Regions from separate parts of the Homo sapiens genome. Here regions 1 and 3 are each linked to region 2. Evidence: promoter capture Hi-C in 16 types of primary human blood cells and fetal thymus (Javierre and others, 2016). All regions are on one chromosome and are shown on one strand. The core of a region is centred on a gene start or on the middle of the fragment in contact, and the rest is flanking DNA. Distances in the headings are between cores, read along the strand shown. Region 1 has its middle 14 kb from the start of RNU6-1. Region 2 holds the start of C15orf61 (chromosome 15 open reading frame 61). Region 3 overlaps MAP2K5 (mitogen-activated protein kinase kinase 5).

Evidence for each region. Contacts are between HindIII fragments. The CHiCAGO score rates a contact against its expected background, and 5 or more counts as called.
Region 1: a fragment that was not itself captured here is called in contact with the fragment with the promoter of C15orf61 in region 2 in 2 of 17 cell types (total CD8 T cells and naive CD4 T cells); the score reaches 7.2 in total CD8 T cells.
Region 3: a fragment that was not itself captured here is called in contact with the fragment with the promoter of C15orf61 in region 2 in 1 of 17 cell types (naive B cells); the score reaches 5.2 in naive B cells.

The regions. Positions count from the first base shown.
Region 1 is chr15:67,851,746-67,856,001 of GRCh38, reverse strand. No RefSeq gene overlaps it. Among named protein-coding and RNA genes, the nearest start is that of RNU6-1, 14 kb to the right of the region's middle. RefSeq lists enhancers at 2,050-2,605, 2,606-3,163. The HindIII fragment of the contact is 281 bases long and covers 1,468-1,748 here.
Region 2 is chr15:67,519,852-67,524,332 of GRCh38, reverse strand. C15orf61 (chromosome 15 open reading frame 61) reads right to left here and starts at 3,202. Exons shown (of 2, transcript NM_001143936.2): 1 at 2,739-3,202. The coding sequence starts at 3,084. IQCH-AS1 (IQCH antisense RNA 1) reads left to right here and starts at 2,489. Exons shown (of 6, transcript NR_040052.1): 1 at 2,489-2,814. RefSeq lists enhancers at 2,776-2,895, 3,536-3,615 and a silencer at 3,006-3,355. The HindIII fragment of the contact is 4,154 bases long and covers 1-3,787 here.
Region 3 is chr15:67,788,656-67,793,286 of GRCh38, reverse strand. All of the region lies in intron 21 of MAP2K5 (mitogen-activated protein kinase kinase 5), which reads right to left. Among named protein-coding and RNA genes, the nearest start is that of SKOR1, 35 kb to the left of the region's middle. RefSeq lists an enhancer at 1,564-2,433. The HindIII fragment of the contact is 1,653 bases long and covers 429-2,081 here.

The DNA of each region.
Region 1 (4,256 bases), core at 359-2,858, 330 kb before region 2:
TCTCATGAGAACTCACTATCTCCGGGAAAGCATCAAGGGATTTACCCCCATGACTCAAACACCTCCCACCAGACCCCACCTCCAACATTGGGGATTACATCTCAACATGAGATTTGGAGGGGAAGTCCAAACTATACTACATGGGTTCAAAAAAGTTTTTAAAAATCTTCAAGGTGTTGGCAGAATTAAAACAATAGGCTATATAGCTATATACTTTTCAAATTACAGAAGATAAAAACAAATCATCAGCCAGGTACAATGGTGCACCTGTACTCCTAGCTACTCAGGAAGCTGAGACTGGAGAATCATTTGAGACCAGGAGTTCAAGTCCAGCCTGGCAACATAGCGAGACCATGACTCTAAAAAAATACATCATCGGCTGGGCACGGTGGCTCATGCCTGTAATCCCAGCACTTTGGGAGGCTGAGGCAGGTGGATCACAAGGTCAGGAGTTCAAGACCAGCCTGGCCAAGATGGTGAAACCCTGTCTCTACTAAAAATACAAAAATTGCAGGGCGCGGTGGCAGGCGCCTGTAATCCCAGCTACTTAGGAGGCTGAGGCAGGAGAATCACTTGAATCCAGGAGGCGGAGGTTGCAGTGAGCTGAGATCGCGCCACTGCACTCCAGCCTGGGCAACATAGCGAGATTCTGTCTTAAAAAAAAAAAAAAAAAAGGGCCAGGCGCGGTGGCTCACGCTTGTAATCCCAGCACTTTGGGAGGCCGAGGTGGGCGGATCATCAGGTCAGGAGTTCGAGACCACCCTGGCCAACACAGTGAAACCCTGTCTCTACTAAAAATACAAAAATTAGCTGGGCATGGTGGTGGGCGCCTGTAATCCCAGCTACTTGGGAGGCTAAGGCAGGAGAATCGCTTGAACCCGGGAGGTGGAGGTTGCAGTGAGCCGAGATTGTGCTACTGCACTCCAGCCTGAGCAACAGAGCTAGACTCCATCTCAAAAAAAAAATAAATAAATAAAAAATACATCATCATGCAATTTTGCTTATCATAGAAGGCAAAAACAAAAACAAACATGAAAAAGAGAAGGCATAAACCAAAATAAAAGAAATAAAACCAAACATGCCAACATAAAAATAAACGCATGATACTAAAAGCCAAAGACCTTCAAACTGGGTTAATACGATTTAAGTACTACAAGGTATCTATATTACTGTGTATCAGATATTTTGAAATAAAACCGCACTCTTTCCATCTGTAGGGTCCCTGCATTAGGCGAGCGTGCCTTTTAGGCCACCTCCTCATCAGTCCTGCCCTGCTCCCTGCTCAGAGGTACTGAGTGCCACAGTGTCCCCACAGACACAGGCAGAGACAGTCTAACGGAAGGGGTGAGGGTGGACAGAAGTGACTGCCTCAGAAAACCATACTTGAGTGTTAGGAGTGTGCTGCCCATTTGCTGGTGAGTGCAGCCCTGTACAGTGAATGAGGGCCTAAGCTTCTCCCTGCAAGCTTCCTGTCTGCAGGTTCTGGGCCACTTTAGAGGGCAAAGTATGCACAGGCCACCTACCATGTGACTTCCCCCAGCCCCAGTGGCAGGTTATTAGGGAAATTTCCATCTTGGACTCTGGCCAACAACTGACCACTAAGTTTTCTGAATGGTTCTCAGTTTTTGTCTTTTTCTGTGTCTCAAGTAGCTTTCGAATTTAAGTTGGAAGATGGCACATCAAGGAAGTTTGATCTGTGGTCATCTTAACTCTTGAAATCCTCTTATCTGTCCTTTGTAACAGAAGCTTTAAAGAAAAAAATGTGTCTATTAAGGCCAGGTGTGGTGGCTCACACCTATAATCCCAACACTTTGGGAGGCCAAAGTGGGAGGATCACTTGAGGCCAGGAGGTTGATGTTATAGTGTCGCCTAGGCGACAGAGCAAGAACTTGTCTCTATAAATAAATAAATAAATAAATAAGATTTAAAATTCAGGTGCTGTGCCAGGTGCTGGTGATACAGGAGACAGAAAGAAATTATTCAGGCAGATCGTGAGGGTAAGAGTCCTCGGCAGAAATTCCCTTTCAACAAAAAGCAGCCCAAAATCATTGCTTTTCTAACAAAGAGCAGCCTGAAAAATCGAGCTGCAAACAGATAAGCAAGCTGGAAGCTTGCACGGGCGAATGCCAGCACCTGTGCCAATAGAAAAGGGTTACCTGAGGGCCAGGTATGTTCAATATGGAGGCTTCAACTTCCCTTTTGTCACCATGTGTACAGTAAAGGAACAGGCAACATGGTGCCAGCCAGGTAGAAAGCTCATCTGCATAATAAAAGATTAGGGTGGGGGTGGCCAGACTTTTACACACTATGCAAATAGCATACCTAGTCCTAACCACTTTTTCATGCCTTATGCAAATGGCACACCTGGTCCAAGCACTCTTTCGTGCTCTATGTAAATCAGACGCTACCTTCTCAAGCTCATCTATAAAACCCTGCATTTCACTGTGGACTGGAAACCTGCTCAGGACCCCTCTCCTTGTAGGAGAAAGGTTTTCTCTTTCTTTCGCCTTTTTTTTTTTTTTTTTTTGAGATGGAGTCTCACTTTGTCACCAGACTGAAGTGCAGTCGTGTGATCTCAGCTCACTACAACCTCCACCTCCCGTGTTCAAGTGATTCTCCTGCCTCAGCCTGTAGCTGGCACTACAGTCGTGCACCACCACACCCAGCTAATTTTTGTATTTTTAGTAGAGACGGGATTTCATCATGTTGGCCAGGATGGTTTCGATCTTTTTGACTTCGTGATCCACCCACCTTGGCTTCCCAAAGTGCTAGGATTACAAGTGTGAGCCACCATGCCTGGCCTCCTTCTATTAAACCTCCGCTCTCAACCTCACTCCTTGTGTGTCCATGTCCTTGATTTCCCTGGCATGAGACAATGAACCTCAGGTATCCCCCCAGGCGAATGGTGCCACTTCACTGGGAGTACAGCAATGAATAAAGTCTGGCCCCTCACAGCTGGGTTCATGGTCTGGGAGGTGGCAGGGGAAGCAAACAAGTAAACAACTAACTCTAAACAAGGCAGAAGAAAATCAGCACTAAATATAGGCATCTGAGTGGGAAGAACAGGGAGGCGGGAGCAATTAATGAGGGTGAAGGAGTGAGAGAAACCTTTATGGCGGGTTTTCAGGGCCTCACTCTAAGCCCACAACAGTAAATTATCAATGGAGGCAACAGTCCATGCACCCAAAGTGCTGTAAGCACTTGGAGCCTGGGTCACCCAGGGGCAGCTCGGCCCCTCTGAGGGAAAGGGACCCTCCCCTGGGGCAGGGAGACTGTGACCCTTGGCAAGGGTGTGGGGAGGGGACAGATGATGGGCCAGATTGGCCCCAGGGGGTGAAATGTTGCTACTGATCAGAGGCGTCAGTTGTAGGCACTTTCTCAGTCCCAGGTTGGAGGGGGGAAGGAAAAAGATAAGGGGCTGCCAGCTCCAGGAAATGAGGGTGAGGTTCTCAGCTAAAAGGGGAGGAGAGAACGAGCATTTATTGAGTGCCTCAGGTGCCTGGCATCACAAAATTATTATCTAATGTTTGTAACAGCAAATTTTTTCTTTTCTTTTCTTTTCTTTTTTTTTTTTTTTTTTGAGACGAAGTCTTGCTCTTGTCCTCCAGGCTGGAGTGCAGTGGCACAATCTTGGCTCACTGCAGCCTCTGCCTCCTAGGTTCAGGTAATTCTCATGCCTCAGCTTCTGGAGTAGCTGGGATTACAGGCGTGTGCCACTACACTGGCTAATTTTTGTATTTTAGTAGAGACAGGGTTTTGCCATGTTGGCCAGGCTGGTCTCGAACTTCTGACCTCAAGTGATTCTCCTGCTTTGGCCTCCCAAAGTGCTAGGATTACAGATGTGAGCCAACACACCCAAACTAACTGCAAATATGTATTGAGCATCTACTATGTGTCAGATACTGTTTCAGGCACTAGGAATACAATGGGGAGCAAAACAAAAATCCTGCTCCTCCTCATGCACAAATACTTGACATAATTTCAGTGATAAATACTTATCAACAGTATTAAGTACTGTAAAGAAAAATAAATGGAAAAAGAATGAAAGGAGGTACTTAGTCCATTTCACAGTGCTATAAAGAACTACCTGAGGCCAGACACAGTGGCTCATGCCTGTAATCTTAGCACTTTGGGAGGCTAAGGTGGGTGGATCACTTGAGGTCAGGAGATCAAGACCAGTCTGGCCAACATGGTGAAACCCCATCTCTACTAAAAATACAAAAATTAGCCAGGCATGGTGGTGGGTGCCTGTAATC
Region 2 (4,481 bases), core at 1,953-4,452:
AATGAGAGTGAAGTATAGGGAGTAGTTGAAATAAAAAATAAATTTAAAATGCAATATCACAACTTCAAAGCTGAAAATCAATGGAGTGAGGAAGAAAAAAAATAGGCTCTAGAAGCAATTACTAATTTTCTAAGCATACTGAGACTAAAATACATAAAATAGGCCTCTTAAACCAAGGCTAAGTATATAAATTTAAGGAATACCTGGTGACACTGACAATTTTCTTTTATAGTATTTATCATAGTTTTCAGTTAACATATTGATTTAAAAAATTCATACTTTTGAAAAATCACAAATACAGAAATAAACGGTCAATATATTTTCAGCTAAAATCAAGGGCTGATCAAAGATTACTAGCTTAATAACTATATTATGTCTTATTAAAAAATAACCAGCAACCATTAGCAGTGATGCTGTTTGACAGGAGATGGAGTTATGATCTGAGTCAGAAATTCTGTATTTTTTTCCCCTTGCTGTCTGTTTATTTAATGCAGTCAGACTAATACTCAAAATGGGAAGGTTTGCCACCTATATAACTTATATATTACAAAATCTTTGTAGCACACATGCTTTGAAGTCTATAAGATTCTATGAAAAATTCAATTTTTTCTGAAAAATTAAATTTATATCTGAAACATGTAACATCAAAAGAACCTCCAAATCAGTTCTTTGCATAATAATTCACTTTGAGTCAGCTGAACAGTAGGTAAACCACTGTCAAATTAAGCACTTTAAAAAATTAGAATTCCTCAGTAAATCTCATTCATTCCAATGGTAAGTTGCTTTTCTTAAATCTCAATCTACTTCTCAGCAGGATACCTAGACTGGTAAACCATCAGTAAAATGTCAGCTTCCATTGAAGGGAAGACGGAGGAGAAAAGGAGCAAATGGGTAAACAGAAATCTTTATTATTTACAAAATGGAAAAATGAATTTGGAAGGGAAGAAGAGGAACAAAATCCTAAGTATAATATTAATAGGATATGTACTTTATCACCCAGAGAGACGATTGTACCTCACAGAATAGGAAAGGACCTATTATCTAATTCACATCCCCTCTACCTTCAGACAAAAATTAAAAATAAACGTTACCAGATGTGTTCACCACTTTAAAATATTTTTTAATTCCCTTTATCAGTATATCCCAATTTGTATTAAAGCATGCATGAGCAAAAAGTTGTCCTTTTTGCTTAACTTAGAACTCTTACTCCCATTTTAGCAGGATTTTTAGAATGTCCAAAAGACCATACAGACCATTAAATCACTCTCCCACATTAATAAACAAAACAAAACAAAAAACACTACAACTGTTGTTTCTTTCAACTTTAAAAGGTTTTACTTTTCTATGTGTGGAATGTTCTGAGTATCCACTTTTTTTGGATGTCTTAATCTCTAAATCTAAAAGAGAGGCCCCTAATCATTAAGGTGCTCTTAAACAAAATGTCAACACTAAAAATGTGACTTTAAAGGAAAAAAAGGCATTTGGCTCATGGTTTACCTATAACTCTCCCGTTATGCTTTTCCTAACCTATTATTCTTTAGGGAAGAATGATTTCTTACTTATGAAAAATGCTAAAATAAACTTATACTTCTCGAATCTAGTTAACACTCCAGTCTTTCCAAATAATTTCGAATTGAATTTCCTAAGTCACCTCACCCTTCAACTTCAACCAACCTCCAAAGTAGTGGGCATGCTCTATACAGTCCATCAGCCAAATAATAAGAGGCATTTTTAAAGGATAACACGTTGCTAAACAATTATCTCCTTACAGGACAGTCCAGTGGAGTAACGGCTCAAAAAGCCCACGACTGACATATGTGTTATTATAAGCACAAATACACAGACTATTTTTAACCTTAATGGACGATCAGATTATGTAATAGTATTAGTAGTACGGCTGCGCAGGGTTTAGTTTTAATCCTGGCTTTAAAAACCTGGCTGGGTAACATGGTTCATTCAGCTCCATGGCTAGATTTTGAATCACTGAAATCTAGATTGATTTTATGCCAGCTATTAGTAAGTTCAAAACATCTTGAGGCCTTCTGTTTTCCCCTGACCTATAAAAGATACACCCATGTCCATGTTCGTACCTCCCTCTTCTGTCATTAAACCAAAAGAAAATAAACACCTAGTGACAGTAAACATCCTCAGGGCGTCTCCATGAAAATATACAAATATTAAAGATCTTTAAAAATCTTTTAGGCCTAGCACCTCAGGAAGCTGTTATGTCTGGTGAAAACCTTTGGTGCTTTTAGTAAAACGAACTTGCCGGGAATTCATACAAAGAAAACAAAAGAAACTTAAAAGAGTAGTTCCAGTTATTGCAACATAAACGCAGCTGCAAAGTGATGTTCACGGGAATGAGTCCTGCCATGCAGTAGGACGGATGTCAACTTCAGAGCCACTTTCTAGGGGGCGTTTCCTGACGCCCCCTGGCTTACTGCCCAGGCCAGGGGTCTACTCTGGTTAACATGGGCAGGACAGGAGGGCGACCCGCCCCTCCCTAGGCCCGAGGACGCGCCCGCAGCAGGCGAACGGCTTCGGGTGCCAGGAGCTCAGCAAGCTGGGGACCCCCTGGGCGAGGAGTACAAAGGACCCCAGGCGAAGCCGGCGCCGGGAGGCAGAGCTGACTCCCGCGGGACTCTACCGGCCTGCGAGCGTTCGTCACGTGCTCGGTGGCTGAGGGGCCGTCCCGGCCGGGCGGGCTTCACCGCGTGGGCGCGGCAGTCGCCACTCACCGAGGTTGACGACCTTGAGCGCCGTGAAGAAGCGGTTCTGCCGGGCCAGGTCCTGCCAGGGAGCCTTGGAGCAGTGGTACTTGATGAAGGGGAAGCAGCCGGTGCGCAGGACGTGGTAGTTGGCGCCCTGCACCGGCCAGTTGAAGTGCGAGAGGCCGAACTGGTCGTTGCGGACGGCGCTGTAGGGCACGCAGAAGGAGGTCCAGTGCGGCAGGCGCCGCTGCAGCAGATGCCGCGTCAGCACCTCCGAGGCGCTGGGCTTGGGGCGGGCGGCGGCGCGCGAGGCCCACGGCCTACACAGCAGCAGGCGGAGCGCGACCTCGTGGGCCCTCCTCAGGGCCTCCATGGCCCGCCGCGCCGGGGACGCAGGCTGGTGTCCGCAGCCGCTGGCGCGCAAGCGCGCCCCCGGGCGAGCGCCGGGAAGGCCAACCGGCGCCGCGCGGGTGCCCGAGAGCCCCCGGTGTGCGGCGGCGCGTGCGCACAGCGGCCCCGTGGCCTCCCGCTGGGGGTGGAGTCCGGGGGATGGGAAGCGTGAGCTGCGCGAGGCGGAGGGTCACCTGCGTCAAGGAGCTGGTTTTGAGTGGCCAGGTGTGACCTCACGCCGTCATTAGTAACTCGGGCAGGGGAGGGATTCGGGGAGGTCTCATCAATTTGGGCCTGAGGAAAATTCAGGTGGAAGACAATTAAATAACTAACCACCTCCGCAAGGTGCAGAACTCAAACCCAAGTCTCCCTCCCACGCCCTGGGCTCCAGGGAAGCCCTTGGGTGTTGTTGTTGAAACAGGACGAGGCGTGACCCCGGGTCTGCGTTGTTTGGTAAGGCCGGGAGCACTTTTGTGTGTAGGTCCTCGCTGTCGGGTTCACTGTTTAAAATTAGTCCCAGAGATTTCAAAATCAAAAGTTTATTTAAAAACCTCACGTGTCTCAGTGCAGCGTCCGAACACACAAAGGCACCTCCCTCTAAGAACCTGGTAGACGGACCAGGAGCCTCTTATCGAGCTTTGTGGACCTCAGTCACCCATTACCAATCCATTACTTTCGGAAAAGCTTTGCTCAAACTTTGCGGCCTCTTGAGGCAGTAACTTACGGACAAAACTGCTTTTAGAAAAGGATTTCCTCTTTTGTCCTAAACTCATTTTGTTTGGAGAGGCCATACATAAACAAGATGATGTGTCTGAAACCACCTTATGTAAATGAGGTACAGTAATTACGCGTTAAGCATCATATAACAATTACTATCGTTGCTAAAAACTCAAGGGGGATGTAGGATAGTATGGCGAAATTTTATATTCCCCAGTTTTTTGTTTTGTTTTGTTTTGTTTTTTTGAGACGGAGTCTCACTCTGTTGCCCAGGCTGGAGTGCAGTGGTGCAATCTCAGCTCACTGCAACCTCTGCCTCCCAGGTTCAAGTGATTTTCCTGCCTCAGCCTCCCGAGTGGCTGGGATTACAGGCGTGCACCACCACGCCTGGCTAATTTTTGTATTTTTAATAGAGACGGGGTTTCACCATGTTGGCCAGGCTGGTCTCAAACTCATGACCTCGTGATCCACCTGCCTCGGCCTCCCAAAGTGCTGGGATTACAGGCGTGAGCCACTGCACCAGGCCTATTCCCCAGTTTTTATTGAACATTGAGCACCCACCAACATATGCCGAATCTTGAACTTTACCTTACAGAATTTGAAGTTGAACTTTACCTTATAGAACTTGAACTTTATAGAATTTCTTTTTCTTTTCTTTTTTTT
Region 3 (4,631 bases), core at 6-2,505, 270 kb before region 2:
TTTTAGAGATGAGGTCTCACAGTGTTGCCCTGACTGGAGCACAGTGGCTATTCACAAGCACAATCATTCCGCACTACACCTTTGAACTCCTGGGCTCAGATGATCCTGTTTCAGTTTCCCGAGTAGCTGGAAGTAAATTTAACTTTGTAAAAAATTAAATCCTGATGCATGTAATCTGTTTAAGAGGATAGAGCAGTGTTATAACACATTTAAGACCTCTTGCTTGTAATTTTTTAAAGTTTGATTTTATAAAGAATACACTACAGTTATCTGAATAATTTTCTTACATGGAGCAGCTCATCCACCTATGATGTTGCCATGTGAGTTTTAGAAAATCCATATTAAACACAATGAAGGCTCTCACTTTGCCCACTTTTCTGTAAAGTTTGCCATGAAGCACCATGTGATCTCACGGGGACAGACAAGCTTGCCGATCCTCTGAATTCATTAAAGACATACGGGGCCGCTTTGGGCCCAAGTTTACCTTGGCTTCTTTGCAGAGAGTTTGATTACTTTTAAGATTTATGGTCAAAGCGGGGGGCGGAAAAGAAATATCTCACAGAGCAGATTTACAACTTCATCTTGATTTTTAATACCATTAGGGATGACATCCAATGACATAATCTTGGAATGACTGCAGGGTGACTCAGAAACTCAGTGGGAAGTTTTATATTTTAGGGTCTGGAGCATTTTGTAGTTGCAAGGTCAGGTAGGAAAGGACCAGGGAAATGAGCCAGAGAGACGGTCAGAGAGTGAGTGTCAGCTGGTTTAATTTTCTGTGTCAACCCCGAAAATTAGATAAACAATGACAAACCAGGCTTTTTAAATGAACTTGTCACTTCTGGTTTTCTTGATACAGAGCAACATTTTTCAAGTCCTGGTAGCCCCAAAGACAGATTTAACCCCTGAGAGGTGTATCCAAGTGTTTCAAAGACCTCACATCTAAAAATAAAAGGTTTAGTCTAACCCTATACCCCTTAAGAGAAAAACTAATTATCCTTGAAATTTAAATACTCTTCTCATAACAATTAAGGGGACTTTGCCTAGAGCCAGAAGGTCCAGTCTTTTGCAGGAGGGTCTTAGCAACGTCCTAGTTTTTTTCTTTCCACCAGACCAACTCAACCCTTCAACACAGTTCCTTTGATCTTAACCTCCTTTTGCAAACCTGACCTCCCACCACTGTTCTAAGCAATACTGTCCACATTGAGCAGGTATTGGCTCTCTTCTCACCAATGCAGGTGAGCAGAGACCTGGCCCTGCCCCTCCTCTGCCTGGTGCTCTGTCGTTATGAAGAGGTAGGAGGTAAGAATTGCCCTGACTTTTATATGCTTTGTGCTATTTTAAGTCTTTGTTGCAGCCATGACATTCTCCCTGGTGGTGAGGGGAACAGATCAGTGAATCTTCCTAATAGCTGCTCCTACTGCCTTTGCTGTAAGGATATTTATTTAAAGACAACCCAGTTTGAATATGTTGATTTGGAGAGAGAAATGCTTATATTTACTGATACCAGCATTTGAGTAGTGGTTTTCATTCTACAACCGGCTTTCAAGCTCATTATCTTATTTCAGTGTCACAACAACCCCATAAAGCAGCTGGATGGCATTACTGTTACTTCCCTCAATTTGTGGATTTGGCCAAGGTAGAGCTGGGATTTGCACTGGATGTCAGCTCCCAAACCTGTGCCTTTTGTGATGATGTGCAATATAATAGCAGCCAGTTGTGAGCACTTACCCTGTGCCAGGTGCTCACTAGGTGCTTTCATTTACATTAGTTCATGTGATCTCCAAAAGCCCTATCAGAAAGTAAATGATAACCTATTTTATAAACAAGGACACTGCACTCTAAGATGGTAATGATGCCTGAGCCCAAGTTTCTTGAGGTTCTTGGCCTTCACAGGTCAGTCTTTCCCCACACTCCACAAGTGGTCAAAACAAGCCCCTGCATAACAAAGTCAGAGTCTGCCTTAGAGAAAATATGAAACAGGTGATTTGAAGCCCTTTGATCCTTCAGTCTTTGCCTCATCCCTCAACTCCAATGCCCCTTTTCCTGTTTAATGCAGAAGAGTCTCCTCTTCCAAAGCTTCAAAGTCATCTTATGCCAGCTAACTGCTGACATTAAGCCAATTCACAGGAAAGTATGAATAACTTAAGAAGGGCACTAGGGCCATGTGCATTTGAAAAGAAGATGCTTGGCTCCTGCCCAGCTGCAGCTCGGATGTCTCACAGGTGGACTATTCATGGCGTGAGGAGCTCTCTCTGGGTAGACAGGTAATAATTTACCTGTGGTTTCCAGGAGTCCTATGGATTTCATTCTCTACAACACAGCTTATTCCCCCTAGCTCTGACTCGTCTTCTGTAAAATATGGAGAACAGCATCAACCTCACAGGACAGTGTGTGTGAAATTCCCAGCCCAGAGGCAGTTCCATAGTCATAACTATCAGTGGCCTAAATTTTGCAGTACTTATCATACTCCTTTTCTAAGGAAACTTTTATAACACCTAACACATGTTCAGCACTAAGTGTGGCAGACATTAGGACACAGGTTTTTTTTTTTTTGTTTGTTTGTTTTTATGTGACTGGCTCTCCTGACAGCTGCAGTAGAGAATTAAAGGCTGCTCTCCACATCTTAAAGACCCTCACCACTCAGTAAGCAGCCCCTCCTCTGAGCCTCAGCCCTAAAGACCCAACTTGCTCCCCATTTAAAACAAGAATGAGCAGACTTCTGGGTTTAGAATTCCATGTAACTAAACCACAAAATAGAAAAAAGGAATCCCAACTGTTGCACTTGTGCACAGCCTACAGACAAGACGGCAGTGCCCTCAGACAGCATTTCAAATACAGTTTATTAGTGTGTGATATGAAAAGGGTATTTTTATTGCATGATATAATGCAATGGGACCTTGGGCGCTCTGTGGAAAGACCTCACACTCAGAAGTGTAATGAACCCGTAGTCCCAAAAACATTATACTGTACATTAACCTATCATTAATGGCACATTAGGGCTAGGGGCATTGCACGCTTGCTGGTCAGGGCTCCATCAGGACAGTGTTGAGAAAACCACACAGTCTTCCCAGGCTTAAAACAAATAGAAAAAATAAATATTCCTGATGTCTACAGGCTGCTTTAAAGGAAGTTCAATCCAGCTCTGCCTTGCAATTTCCAAGCCTGCTTTTTTAAGAGTGGAAGAAAGATACACAACCAAACAAAGGGAAAAGAAAACGACTCTCTTGTAGTTTACCCCCAGCTATTGGCTATTCAACCTCAATGTTGCTTGACAAGGTCATGAGCAAATAGCACCTTGGTAGTGTAAAAGCTGCCCAAAGGACACTCGGGCCTGGACCACAGACTGCAGAAGTGGGATGGGGCCTTGGAAATTGTGTCCACCCCCTTCACTGTCTAGATGGAAAAATCAATCTTCAACAAGATGAAGGAAGAGACAACACATTCAACAGAAAAACAGGCAAAGAATGTGAAAAAAAAAATGTGACCAACAAACATATGAAAGAAGTGTTAATCCTCATACTTAATAAAATAAACATAAATTAAAATGATTAGATCCTTTTTTTTTTTTGAAACAGAGTTTTGCTCTTGTTGCTCAGGCTGGAGTGCAATGGTGCGATCTCGGCTCACTGCAACCTCCACCTCCCCGGGTTCAAGCAATTCTCCTGCCTCAGTCTCCAGAGTAGCTGGAATTACAGGGTCCCCCCACCACACCCAGCTAATTTTTGTATTTTTAGTAGAGACAGTGTTTCACCATGTTGGCCAGGCTGGTCTCGAACTCCTGACCTCAGGTGATCCACCTGGCCTCCCAAAGTGCTGGGATTACAGGCGTTAAGCCGCCACGCCTGGCCAACTAGATACCATTTTGCCACTGATTAGGTTGGCAAAGATTAAAATCTGATAATTTAGTATCAGAAGAGATGAAGAAGAAGAGCTAACATTCTCATATCCAGTATACAAAGATGTATACATAGAGACACAGTCACTGTCTTAATAACAAAAAAATATGGAAATGGTCAAAATATCCTATGACAGGGTCCTGGATAAATAAATATGATACATCCATAGTATGGAATACTATACAGCCATTAAGAATAAGGTTGATCTTTATATTATATGGAAAGACCTCAATGACTCACTAAGTAAAAAAGCAAGGTGCAGAATAAAAAGAATTAAAAATTCTAGAAGGATACCCAAGCTACTATTAACAATGCTTATCTCTAGAGATTAGGGCTGGAAGATATGGAGGATTGGAAGGAGACTAACTTCTTACTGTATATCCTTCTGTACTGTGTAATTTTTTTTTTTTTTTTTTGAGACAGGGTCTCTCTCTGTCACCCATGCTGGAGTGCAATGGTACAATCATGGCTCACTGCATCCTCTACCTCATGGGCTCAAGTGATCCTCTCACCTCAGCATCCTGAGAAGCTGGGACTACAGGCAGTGCCACCATGTCCAACTAGTTTTTAAGTTTTTGTAGAGACAGGGTCTCACTATGTTGCCCAGGCGGGTCTCGAACTCCTGGGCGAAAGTGATCCTCCTGCCTCAGCCCCCCAAGAGCTAGAATTAAGCATGATCCACCATGTCTGGCCAAATTTTTAATCATAATTTAAAAACTAGTTTTAGCAAAT